3 separate regions of the Homo sapiens genome follow, and regions 2 and 3 are each linked to region 1. The links are contacts of gene promoters, found by promoter capture Hi-C in blood cells and fetal thymus (Javierre and others, 2016). All regions are on one chromosome and are shown on one strand. The core of a region is centred on a gene start or on the middle of the fragment in contact, and the rest is flanking DNA. Distances in the headings are between cores, read along the strand shown. Region 1 holds the start of FBXO43 (F-box protein 43). Region 2 overlaps SNX31 (sorting nexin 31). Region 3 has its middle 52 kb from the start of ANKRD46.

Region 1 (4,062 bases), core at 726-3,225:
GCTCACTGCAGCCTCTGCCTCCCGGGTTCAACCAATTTTCCTGTATCAGCTTCCCCACTGACTGGGATTACAGGCGCCCACGACCACGCCCGGCTAATTTGTGTATTTTTAGTAGAGACGGGCTTTCGCCATGTTGGCCAGGCTGGTCTCGAACTCCTGACCTCAGGTGATCCACCCAACCTTGGCCTCCCAAAGTGCTGGGATTACAGGCAATAGCCAACGCGCCCGGCAGGTCACGGTCCTTTTAAAAGGTTATGGCAATTGTACTGCTACTTCACCACTAGGTGTCTCACAATGCTAGAATTTGGGAAACTCAGAGGCAAATTGTTAAAAACAAAGTGGGGAATGCAGATATTATCTCTTTCCTCTAAAATGTTATCCAAAAATCTATTCTGGCCGGTGGCTCACGCCTGTAATCCCAGCACTTTAGGAGGCCGCGGCGGGAGAAATGCTTGAGTCCAGGAGTTTAAGACCAGCCTGGGTAACATAGTGAGACCCCATCTCTTAAAAAAAAAATTGTTTCTGTTCATCTACACACTTGAAGTTGCCTCCAACGTCCTTTCTCTGCTAGCATTTTCATCTTTCTACTACCCCAAGACGTTGGTCTCAAACGTGGTTCTTCGCAACTGAATTTTAAAATTATTCATGTAAAATCATGGACTGTCTGTTGTATTTTATGGACTCAACAGTTCACGGATAAATCAATCAAGCCTCTTCGATATTCATTTTTAAAAACTAGGCTTCTGATAAAAGGCTGAGAAAACTTATTCCTAAAGTGTTCTTTAAGAAAAAAAAAAAAAAAAGCAGCGGCCGGGCGCGGTGGCTCACGCCCGTAATCCCAGCACTTTGGGAGGCCGGGGCGGGCGGATCACGAGGTCAGGAGAGCGAGACCAACCTGGCTAACACGGTGAAACCCCGTCTCCACTAAAAATACAAAAAAATTATCCGGGCGTGGTGGCGGGCGCCTGTAGTCCCAGCTACTCGGGAGGCTGAGGCAGGAGAATGGCGTGAACCCGGGAGGTGGAGCTTGCAGTGAGCCGAGATCGCGCCACTGCACTCCAGCCTGGGCGACAGAGCGACTCCGTCTCAAAAAAAAAAAAAGAAAGAAAAAAGAAAAAGAAAAAAAAGAAAAAGCACCTACCACATCAGAGAATGAAGTACTTACATTAAACCCAAATGTTCTTCATTTGTTAAAGTGGAAACTCTTACCATCAGTAAATCTTGAGCTCTTAGATGTCAAAGTTACGTAGGCTTCCAAACAAGAAATTCTCTCATCTTTGTCTTTAAAACTCATGCCAAAATAATGCCACTTAAAGAGGAAAACTTTAGTTTGCACAATTAATTGAAAGGTGCAGCAGCATCATGATTGCTCAAAGTCGAAGGGTACACAGGGTGCATGCCGCAGGGATTATTCCTAACACTTGAGAAGGTCTAAATCATTTTGAATTTCCTTCAGCCCTCCAGAAAATAGTTATCTTAATATCCTTGTTTTCTCCAGCTGGACTTAGACATGAGTAAACTTCCCAAATTCGGGTTCCTGAAAAGGCAGCGTGTGCTGCAGCCTGGCACTGACTCCCCCGAGGAGCTATGGCGGGCGGGTGGGTAACGGTCTCACCAGGGCGTCAAAGATCCGCTAGGCCCAGAAAGCCAAGGGCAGCAGGGGATGGGCTGGCGTCACCAGGAGCGGAGGAGTGAGGGCTGCCGCGCGCCTCCCTAGGCCCAGCACCTGGAAGACACAGGGCGACGCGGGGCCGGGCCGCCGGGAGACCCGCTAACGGGCACTCGCCTGGGGTCCCGCCGCCTGCCTGGAGGCCGCGGGGCCGGGCGAGGCGCCGAAGCGGACAGGTGGGAGAGGAGCCGGGCAGCAGCCGCTGGATGGGCCGGGGAGAAGCCTCGGCCTCGCCCCCTGGGATGCGGGCTATGGCAACCCCCACGCCAGCTTCGCGTGGGGCCGCTGCCTTTACCTCCTTAGGTTTGAACGGCCCGCCCGGGGTAACCGCTAAGCGCAGCCCCGCCCCGCGCCGCGCTGTCCCGCCCCTTCCTCCGGCTCTGCAGCGCTCCCGCCCGGCCGCCCGCAGGCCTGGGTCCTCGCTTGAGCGGGAGGAGCGCCCCCTCTCTCGCTCACCCCTGCACCCGTCCCGAGGCGGGTCAGAAAGGCTCTGCTTCTCCCCATTCCCACTTTGGGAAGCATTACCGTATTTAGGAATGCTAACGTGGCCTACAGTGGGATGCCATTAGAAATCATGTATGAGAATGTTCCCTTGGAAATGATTCTCCAAACTGTCAAGTGCAAAAAGCAAGTTACAAACTGACCCCTTTTAGGTTAAAAATATGGATATACACAGGATGAGGTCTGAAAGGTATGAATAACTTGGATACGGTAAATTTGTACAGGATTATGTTTGCTTTTTAGTTCTTTTTATCTGTGTTTTCTTCTCATGTTTCAACAATGAATATATACAGATTTTGTGATAAAAAAGCTGAGCCGGGCCTGGTGGCTCACATCTGTAATCCCAGCACAGAGGTGGGAGGATCACTTGAGCCAAGGAATTTGAGACCAGCCTGGGCAACATAGTGAGACCCCCATCTCAAAAAAAAGATTTTTAAAAAATCTATTCATAAAAACCAGAGTGAAATGTGTTCATTGTTTACAAACATCCATTTTTGGGCATCATGAACTCCCAAGTACCCTCAAAGCCAAATAAATTTTTTAAACCCTAATTTTTTCATTCAATAAATATTTACTGGGCGTCTATTATATGCCAGGGACACTCCTGCTGCTCTTGGCAGCTTCTTCCTAGTCTCCTTTTTCTGGCTTCTTTTCCTTGGCCTACTCCCTAAATGAGAGGTCCTACCTCAGCATTTTTATTAGTTTATCATCCCATGCTTATGTAATTCTTATTCAGAACTTCAACCATCACTTTTAAGCCAATAACAGGCACTACCACCACTCTTCTCTGACTGGACATTTCTCCAACTGGATGTCCCTCAGTCATCCAAAACCAAACTCACTAAAATTATTATGAGACAGGGTCTCGCTCTGTCACGCACGCTGGAGTGCCGTGGTGCAATCTTGGCTCACTGCAACCTCCACCTCCCAGGTTCAAACGATTCTCCTGCCTCAGCCTCCCGAGTAGCTGGGATGACAGGCACCCGCCACCACGCCTAGCTAATTTTTGTATTTTCAGTAGAGACGGAGTTTTGCCAGGTTGGCCAGGCTGGTCTCGAACTCCTGACCTCAGGTGATCCACCTGCCTCAGCCTCCCAAAGTGCTGAGATTACAGGCATGAGCCACTGTGCCCGTCCACTAACAGTTATTAAATTCCAACTATGTGCCAATTACTGTGCTAGGTACTGGGAATACAGAGCTGACACAGCCACAGTTACTGCTGTTAAGGAGCTCATTGGTATAGAGCAAGTGCTGTAACAGAGGAACAGTAGCAGCACAAAGGAAAGAAGAACCAGCTAACTCTACTGGAGAACAGAGTGCATGAGATAGATTTTGATGTACAAGTGGCAATTTAAAAGGCAGACAGCAGGAAATTCCAAACTTAAAATGTATAAGGGCAGGAAAATTTCAAACTCAAAACAAAATGTGCAAGAGCAGTTGGGCACATGGAGAAGCTGCAAATAATTTGTTATAGGCAGAAACTAAGAGTTGTTAGAGGAAAGGATTAGAGAAAATTCCTGAGAAGTGAAGAAGCTAAGTCTTGGGAAGTTCTGGTTGCACCTTCAGAGTTTGAAGAGCATTTTAGAAAGTCCACTCTGGTGGCAGAATGGAGGACAGAATGAAGAGAGGCAAGGGTGGCTGCTAGGAGACCAGTAGGAAGCTACTGCATTTCTCCAGAAGGCAGTGGGGGGTGGAGCAGAACCAAGATGTGACATGTTCAGTTGGCAGAATCAACTGCATGGGGCAAGGAGTGAGGGAATGAAGAGTATAGGCTTGGGAGAAAATAAGATGCATTTAGTGTGAGGTTGTTAAGTTTGAGGTACCTGTAGGACTGTAAAGAATTAATGAATTACACATTCTTCAAGACAGCACCTCTCTGAAGCCTACCCCCA
Region 2 (4,062 bases), core at 549-3,048, 430 kb after region 1:
TTTCTTGATAGAAAACTAGAATAGTCTTTCTGCTGTGAAGTAAACAGAGAGGTCAGAAATGTAAATGAAAGGAAATCATTTCCATAACAATAACAAAGTCACAGAGGTTAAAACAGTATTGAAAGGGCAACAGAAAGCTTACATTTGTATAAGCAATGGTTATTTTAAACAGTTTTATTCTGTAGAAGCTTTATTTTGGGGTGAGTGTAAATACACTCGTTAGGACTGAGAAGAGCACCGCCTACTGGTTTTATGTGTCCTCTGCATCTTTCAGGGCCCTGGGATATCACCCAGGTTAACATTTAACTCTACCTGTCTTGCCTCTTTCCCCTCTTAAAGCCATGCGACTTTCAATTTTTAACTTTGCCCAAAATCTTTAGTGCACATTCCACACAAATACAAACTTTAAAAAAGAGGCTGGGCGGCCAGGCGCAGTGGCTCATGCCTGTAATCCCAACACTTTGGGAGGCCAAGGCGGGCAGATCACGAGTTCAGGAGATCAAGACCACCCTGGCCAACGTGGTGAAACCCCATCTCTAATAAAATACAAAAAAATTAGCTAGGCATGGTGGCTGGCGCCTGTGGTCCGAGCTATTCGGGAGGCTGAGGCAGGGGAATCACTTGAACCCTGGAGGCAGAGGTTTCAGTGAGCCAAGATTGTGCCACTGCACTTCAGCCTGGCAACAGAGTGAGACTCCGTCTAAAAAAAAAAAAAAAAAGAAGAGGCCGTGTACAGTGGCTCACGCCTGTAATCCCAGCACGTTGGGAGGCTGAGGTGGTGGATCACTTGAGGCCAGGAGTACGAGACCAGCCTGGCCAGCATGGTGAAACCCCATCTCTACCAAAACTACAAAAACTAGCCGGATGTGGTGGTGCACACCTGTAATCCCAGCTACTCAGGAGGCTGAGGCAGGAGGATCGCTTGAACCTGGGAGGTGGAGGTTGCAATGAGCCGAGATGGCACCACCGCACTCCAGCCTGGGCAAGGGAGCGAGACTCTGTCTCATTAGAAAAAAAAAGTGTTATGCTTATTTTAAAACATTTTAGAGGTTAGGGTTACCGCAAATCTTTAAAGAGTAATTTGCCTTCAGTACTTATGAAATCTCAAAGACACGGTTATGGAAAGTGGAAAGTGAAAAAAAAAATGTGGAGCCCCTCAGTGGGCAGATGGGCTACAACTTTTTTTCTACGAGGGATTTGTTTTGATAGAGGGGCCTCACTGCCAAGTGGTTAAAGCAACAAACTAATTTTATTTGTTAAACAACAAATAAAGACTGCTTGGGTTCAAATACTGGCTCTGATATTAACTGACTGTGTGACCTTGAGCAAGTGACTTAACCTTTCTGTGTTTCAGTTCTCTGTGCAGTAAGCCAAGGATAATAACAGTGCTTTGGTTGTTTATTGGGATTAAACGAGTTATACATAAAAAGTAATTATAGCAGTTCATGGCTCAGGATAAGGTCTATACAACAGTTTGCAAAATAAATTAAAACTCAATATAGTTGGACACTAGGTCTCTTTCCGACCTGCTGGTCCTACTCACAGCATGAGATAGGTTGGCCTGTATTAGAGTTACCACTCATCCGAGAGGACAACTGAACTGATCACAGTTGTGCTGAGTGTTATCTGTTGTCCTAGGACAGTGGCTCTCAAACTTGAACATGCATCAGATTTGTCTGGTGGGCGTGTTAAAGAGATTGCTGCGGCCTTCCCCCAGAGCTGCTGATCCAGTAGGTTTGGGGCCTGAGAATTTGAATTTCTAATAAGATCCACGTGATACAGATGCTGTTGGTCCAGGGACCACACACTGAGAACTGGTGTTCTAGGATAATGGTTCCAATTCTGGTTGTATAATAGGACCACTTGGGGAGCTTTTAAAAATTCCATTGCCCAGGCCCCTCAGACCAATTAAATCCAAATTTCTGAGGGTGGGGCTCAAGCATTAGTTTTTAGAGCTCCCCAGGTGATTCCAATGTGCAGCCAAAGTTGAGAACCACAGCTCCATGCTGTCGGCATGCTGCTAAAATGGGTGCATTAAAATGATGAAGTGATTGCCATCTACATTTTACAGACAAAGATATGGAAGTGCAGTATCAGAGTCCCTAATGAAGTTAGGTTTTGGATCTGCCTAATGACACATAGCCAGTAAGCAGTGGAGTTCCTATCTCGTCTCTCTGTCCAACCAGCCAGAAGTGCTGTGATTATGAAGGAGAATGCTTTTATGCATTTCTGCTAGTTTATTTTCCCTGACTGTATTCATTCAAGAAAGGACTTTATATACTTACATATTTATAAATACTGTACATATATACTAAGGATGTTTACATACACACCAGTTCTGTGACAGGTGCTGGATCAAGAAGAAATCCCATTCAAATGCTACTTAGAAGTCACTTTTCTTTCATTCACCTACACTAGGATTTGGACTTAGAAAGGAAGAGTTAGCAAGGGCACAGTTAGTTAAGGGCATAGTTCCAGGGTCAGACTGCCTGCTTCTTTCCATCTTTGACTGCTGTGCAACCTTGGGCAGGTCACAAAACCTCTCTGTGCACTAATTTCCTCAACTTATTTATAGGGCTGTGAAGGAATGTGTTAATTCACATAAAAGTGCTTAGAATACTGCCTGGCAATAATGAGTGCTCAAAAATGTCATTGATTGTGATTTTTTCTATTATTATCTGCACAGCAGATCTAAATGCTCAAAAAGTATTTTGTAAACTTAAAAGTTGCTTTATACAGAGTATACTGCAGAAAACTATGAGACCAAAATATACTAGATATGTAACATATACAAATTAGAAAGAGAGTTGCCTCCAAAAAGTGCAAGGGGTGTACAAAAAAATCACCAAATAATTTTGTGTTTCTCTTGGAAATTTTCTATGTAAAAATTCTTGGTAGTGCTATGGGGTGCTACAATAAAAATACTATACTTCTGTGATGGCCTTCCAATTGGCCCAATCTACAAAGAGGAGCTTCTGAGAAACATAATTCTGACTTATTATTGAAAGTGAGATGACTTTGGTTAAAGAGGAAAAAAGATCAGATTTATCAAAATTATAATGTACCAATTACATAATTTTACTCACAGACCTGGCTTTGTTGAATGTGGTATTTTTTACTTTTGCTTTGTTCCGGAACTTCAATCTGCTAGATAGATTAGTGAAATGTCAGTCAGCTCAGCCCAGAGAAGCAAGCACACAAACAATCTATTTAACTAGCACACTTTCCCTTCCACGATAATCCTCTTAATCGTCCCAAAGGCTGCCGGTCAGCAGGTACACCTGCTTGTCATCTGTGCATTCCTCTTTCACTTGTCAGGGTCTAAATGTTACAGAAATAGAGTCCCCAAAAGTTAAGTAAAACTTAATGTTTCACATTAGTGGTTGCCTATGGATTTTGTGATTGAAGAAAGCTTTTAAAAGAACATCACACGAAATGAAATGTCCTTCTAAATCCTGAAATAATTCTTGGGGTTGCAATCCATATGCTGACTCAAAGCCCAGCGGGGCTTTGGTTAATCAAAAGCCACCATTAATCAAACGAAGAATCAAAGCGAAGTTCAAGGCACTTGAATATACCTCATGTACATAAGGTAAACCCAATATACCAGCAGGAAACAGATGGTGCAATCTTGGGGTAATTGAGGAGAATTTTAGGAAGGAACCGTTTAACTATTTAATGGAGGTGTGGGCAGGATTACATTGAATGCATGAAGGGATGTTGGGGCCCCCAGGGGCTAGCAATGAGGGGGATTTCCAGAGGATTCTTACCACCTCTAGGCCTGAAGGGGCGAGGGAGCAGCTGGGGCTGGAACCAGAGAGTAGCTGTAGCTATAAGGAGGAGAGATTGCCTGACGGGAGCTGTATCCCTCAGTAGAGAGACATTCCAGCCCCAGAGACCCAGCAGGTTCCAACATGGAGAAATAAACACCCTACTCTCACTTTTCTCCCACCCTCCAATCTCCTGCTGGTTTCCCAATGAGTTATCCAGGGATGTCCAATCTTTTGGCTTTCCTGGACCACACTGGAAGAAGAGAATTGTCTTGGTCCCCATGTAATATAG
Region 3 (4,062 bases), core at 1,004-3,503, 360 kb after region 1:
ACCTCTCCAACCCCTTCATGTCGGCTGCCTCAGGATTCCCCTTTCTGTGCTCCCTCCTCGGATGATTTCACCAAGTCCCAGGGCTGTAAATTCCGTCTATATGCTGAGAATTTCCAATATGATTGAGAAATTCTATCTCTAGCCCAGACCCTTCTCCCAAATTTTGACTCATAATTCCAAAGGCCTACTTGGCATTTCTCTTTGGTTGTTGAATAGACATCTCCAACCCAACGTGCCCCAAACCGAACTCCTGATCTTCTCCCTTAAACCTGTCCCTGCTGCAGCCTTTCCTGGGCTGGCATCTTGCAATTTGCTCAAATAAAAAAACTAGGAGTCATCCTTGACTACCCTTTCTCAGGCTCCACTAGCTCTACCTTCAAAATACATCCACAATCCATTGATCTTTCGGCATCTTCACTGCTACTACATTCAAAATCACATAGCAATTCTTCATTTTTCCCAAAATTAAAGCCAGTGCCCTGGCAATGGTCTGCAAGGCCCTAAATGATCTGCTTTCTCCTTCCCGACACCTTAGCTCTGTGAGTTCAGCTCCCAACACTCTCGCCCTTGCCCAATCTTCTCCAGATATTCAGGTCTTTTTGTAGTTTCCCCATCATGTCAGGTGTGCTCCCGCCCACCTGAGAGCCTCTGCTCTACCTGTTCTCTCTGTTTGGGGTACTCTCCTGGCCAACTCGCTCACTTCCTTCAACTCTGTGCATTCAGACTTCTCAAATCTCACCTTCACAATGAGGCCAGCTCTGACCGCAGAATTTAATGTAACCTGCCCCACTCCCAGCACTTCTTATTTCCTTACCTTGTTTTATTTTTCCTTTGTTTTCAGAGCACTCACCACTTTCCAGTACAGTATATTATTCAACCTGCTTGTTTATTTTGTTTACTTTTCATTGTCTATCTACTCAAAGGCAGGAAACTGCTTTGTTCACGGCTGTATCCCAAGTCCTAGAGTAGTGCCTGGCCCGTAGTAGCTGCCCAGTAGGTACTTGTTGAATGAAGTAATAAAGTTTCACCAGCAAGAGCAAACTTCCTACCTCTGGCCTATCAGCCCAGGTCTGAGCAGACTGATCCAGGAGACGACAGAGAAAAGGTGGATCTGGAGGGATCCTGCCCTGTCCCAGGATTGGGAGAATTGAGAGAGGCTCCGGATTCTTCTTCATTGTCTTTGGTTGTGCCTCGTGACCTCAGACAGACCTGGGCCTCTGGTTCGCTAGGCTGCAGCTGTGTGCTCAGAGCCACTGCCCACCGCTTAACGTCATAGTTCTCAGGGGACCTTCCAGGAATACTCAGAGGACATATGTCTGTGACTGCACTGTCCAGGGTACCAGCCACTGGCCATGTGGCTACTGAGTACTTATTTGGCCAGTCCCAAATGAGATGTGTTGAAACTGTAAAATTTCAAAGACTTAGTACAAAAAGGAATGTAAAATATCTCATTAATAATTTTAAATATTGATTACATGTCAATACTATTTTGGATATATTGAGTTAAATAAAATATATGATTAAAATGAAGTTCACTTCTTTCTTTCTTTTCTTTCTTCTTTCCTTTCTTTCTTTTTCTTCTTTTCTTTTCTTTTTTCTTTTTGGATACAGGGTCTCACTCTGTCACCCAGGCTGGAGTGTGGTGGTGGGATCATGGCTCACTGCAGCCTCGACCTCCTGAGCTTAAGCAATCCTCCCACTTCAACCTCCCAAGTAGCTGGGACCACAGGTTTGTGCCACCACACCTGGCCAAATTTTTGATATTTTGTAGAGATTGGTGGGGGGGTTTCAATATGTTGCCCAGGCTGGTCTCGAATTCTTAGGCTCAAACATTTCTCCCTCCTAGGCCTCCGAAAGTGCTGGGATTACAGGCATGAGCCACCATGCCCAGCCGCTTGTATCTTATTACTCTTTTAATGTGACTACTTGAAAATTTAAAATTATATAAGTGGCTTGCATTATATTGCTACAGAATGGTTCTGGTGTATGAGGAAAAACAACTCACATCTAGAAATCAAATCCCAAGACCCTGAAAATCCACATTTCCTAAATCCAAACTGATGGCTCCTTTATTTCAAATAATACTGAGATACAGTGAAATTTCATTAAGATAAAAGCCACTTCAGAATATGACTAATTCAGTTAATGAGGATTTCTTTAAAAGCTTTGGCTTTGTATCCTTATATCATCTTGTGATGCTTTGCCTGAGGGGCAGAAAGCCCTCACAAAACATTCATAGTCTCCTCCATTTGTTCCTCAGACATTTATTGAACTCCTACAGTATGCCAGGAGCTGGGTGAGGAGTGGGGGATTCAACAAGGCTGGCTCCAGCCTCCCTTCCCTAAGCTTCCCTCATAACATTGCACACGTGTTGGGTCGCCCACTGAGGTTCATGTGGGCAGCCACGGAATCGGGGGCTGGGTGCCTGATCGGACCTGGGCCAGCGTCAGTACAGGCCTGGAAGAGGAGCTCAGGAGCTTGGGCCCTGAGCTTAGGCCTGTGGGCGGGCTGCTGGCGTCCGGCAGGGTATTCTAGACCAAAGACTTGCAGGGTGAAGAGGTCTGCAGTATGCCACAGGACCATGTGGAGTATTTTGAGCTGAAGACATTTGAGAATCAACAGCTGCAGGAAGAGGCTCTTCCTGAACTCCCCTTATCTTCCTAAATGCAAAGCCTCCCCAAAGAATTCAACTATTATAAATCCTTTCCCGGGAATTTCACAAGAAGAGAAGATTGACTCTTATCATTGAAGAGAAGTCAACACAAGGCATCACCTGGATAAGAAATTGCCTGAACGGATATTGTTACAAAACTATCCCCACAGTTCATGGGGACAATACATACTTCCCGTGGACTCACCTAAGAAGCTATTTATTTTTCCTAAGTTGTTTGGTCATGTAGAAGTTCCCCTCTGCATCTGCCCACTCCCTGTTAAGATGGCATATAAGCCCCAGATTCTAACCTCCTCCTGGAGTCAGCTTTTGTGTGTGTGTGAACTCTCATGTACACACAAATTTGAACAATAATATGTTCTCTTTTTTTTGGAGGCAGGGTCTCACTGTCCTCCAGGCTAAAGTGTAGTGGCATGATCAGGGCTCACTGCAGCCTCGAACTCCTGGGCTTAAGTGATCCTCCTGCCTCAGCCTCCAGAGTCACTGGGATCAGAGGCATAAGCCACACCATGCCTGGTTTTTTCTTTTGCTAATCTGTCTTTTGTCAGTTTAATGTACAGGCCCCTAAATACTGAATGTAAGAGCACAGAAGAAAAGTTTTCCTCCCCAGCAATGGTCATGCACTGACACTGCACATGCTGCTCAGAGATCCGTGTGCTTTGTAGGCTAAGGGAAGGAGGCTTTGTGTTCTCAGTACTAAACGCAAGGGGTGCATTGACCCTGGGAACTGTTTTGGGGATGGATATAAGAGGCTGTGGGAGAGTTTCAGGAAAGATGAGTCTGAGAGCCTGGGGAATGCCGTAGAGCTGTGACTTCCTAGAGGCCAGGCCCGGGGGAGAAGGGTGCCCTAACAAAGCTAGGAGTCACAGGGGAGCAGGGAAGACAGAAAGGGGCTCAGTGGCCAACAGGACCTGGCACCAGGAAGACATGTAATGAAAGGAGGGGTGGTCTAGAGAGACTTTCTCCTATCTTCCAAGATTCTGTTATCTTGCCATATTGTTTTTATGGGATTAAAAAAATAAAGTGGGAGAATCCAGGGAGCAACATCTCTAGAAAAGTTGCCCCTGGATCTAAGCTCTCTGGCCCTGGTCTTTCCCAGCAGGGATGATTCCTTCCTGACTTGGGGCTGAAGATCTGGACTGGGAATTATATGCTAAGTTTCTCATGAAAAGAGCAATAAAATTTACCCTCTGTTTCTGCCTCTTTCTCACTGTGCCAAATGTAAAGAAAAAAGAAAAGAATAAGAAAAGCAAAAAGGATTCACTAGAGATTGCAGGGCTAGAAAGGGAATAAGAAATGAAAACAACAAAATGTTATTTTAAATTTGCTTTAACAGCAGCTCAGAGATGCAGGTCAACCATTTACGAGAGGGAAGTGCCTGATACTTCAGG

Evidence for each region. The method cuts DNA at HindIII sites, captures the fragments that hold promoters and counts their contacts. A CHiCAGO score of 5 or more calls a contact.
Region 2: a contact is called between a fragment that was not itself captured here and the fragment with the promoter of FBXO43 in region 1, in 16 of 17 cell types (naive B cells, total B cells, M2 macrophages and 13 more). The highest score is 9.7, in naive B cells.
Region 3: a fragment that was not itself captured here is called in contact with the fragment with the promoter of FBXO43 in region 1 in 8 of 17 cell types (naive B cells, total CD8 T cells, naive CD8 T cells and 5 more); the score reaches 8.0 in naive B cells.

What each region holds. Positions count from the first base shown.
Region 1 is chr8:100,143,842-100,147,903 of GRCh38, forward strand. FBXO43 (F-box protein 43) reads right to left here and starts at 1,976. Exons shown (of 5, transcript NM_001029860.4): 1 at 1,210-1,976. The coding sequence starts at 1,294. RefSeq lists an enhancer at 439-588 and a silencer at 1,700-2,159. The HindIII fragment of the contact is 15,929 bases long and covers 1-4,062 here.
Region 2 is chr8:100,573,929-100,577,990 of GRCh38, forward strand. It overlaps SNX31 (sorting nexin 31), which reads right to left. Exons shown (of 14, transcript NM_152628.4): 13 at 3,091-3,147; 14 at 1-32. Among named protein-coding and RNA genes, the nearest start is that of ANKRD46, 16 kb to the left of the region's middle. The HindIII fragment of the contact is 3,224 bases long and covers 187-3,410 here.
Region 3 is chr8:100,505,768-100,509,829 of GRCh38, forward strand. It overlaps a transcript of ANKRD46 not described here. Among named protein-coding and RNA genes, the nearest start is that of ANKRD46, 52 kb to the right of the region's middle. The HindIII fragment of the contact is 182 bases long and covers 2,163-2,344 here.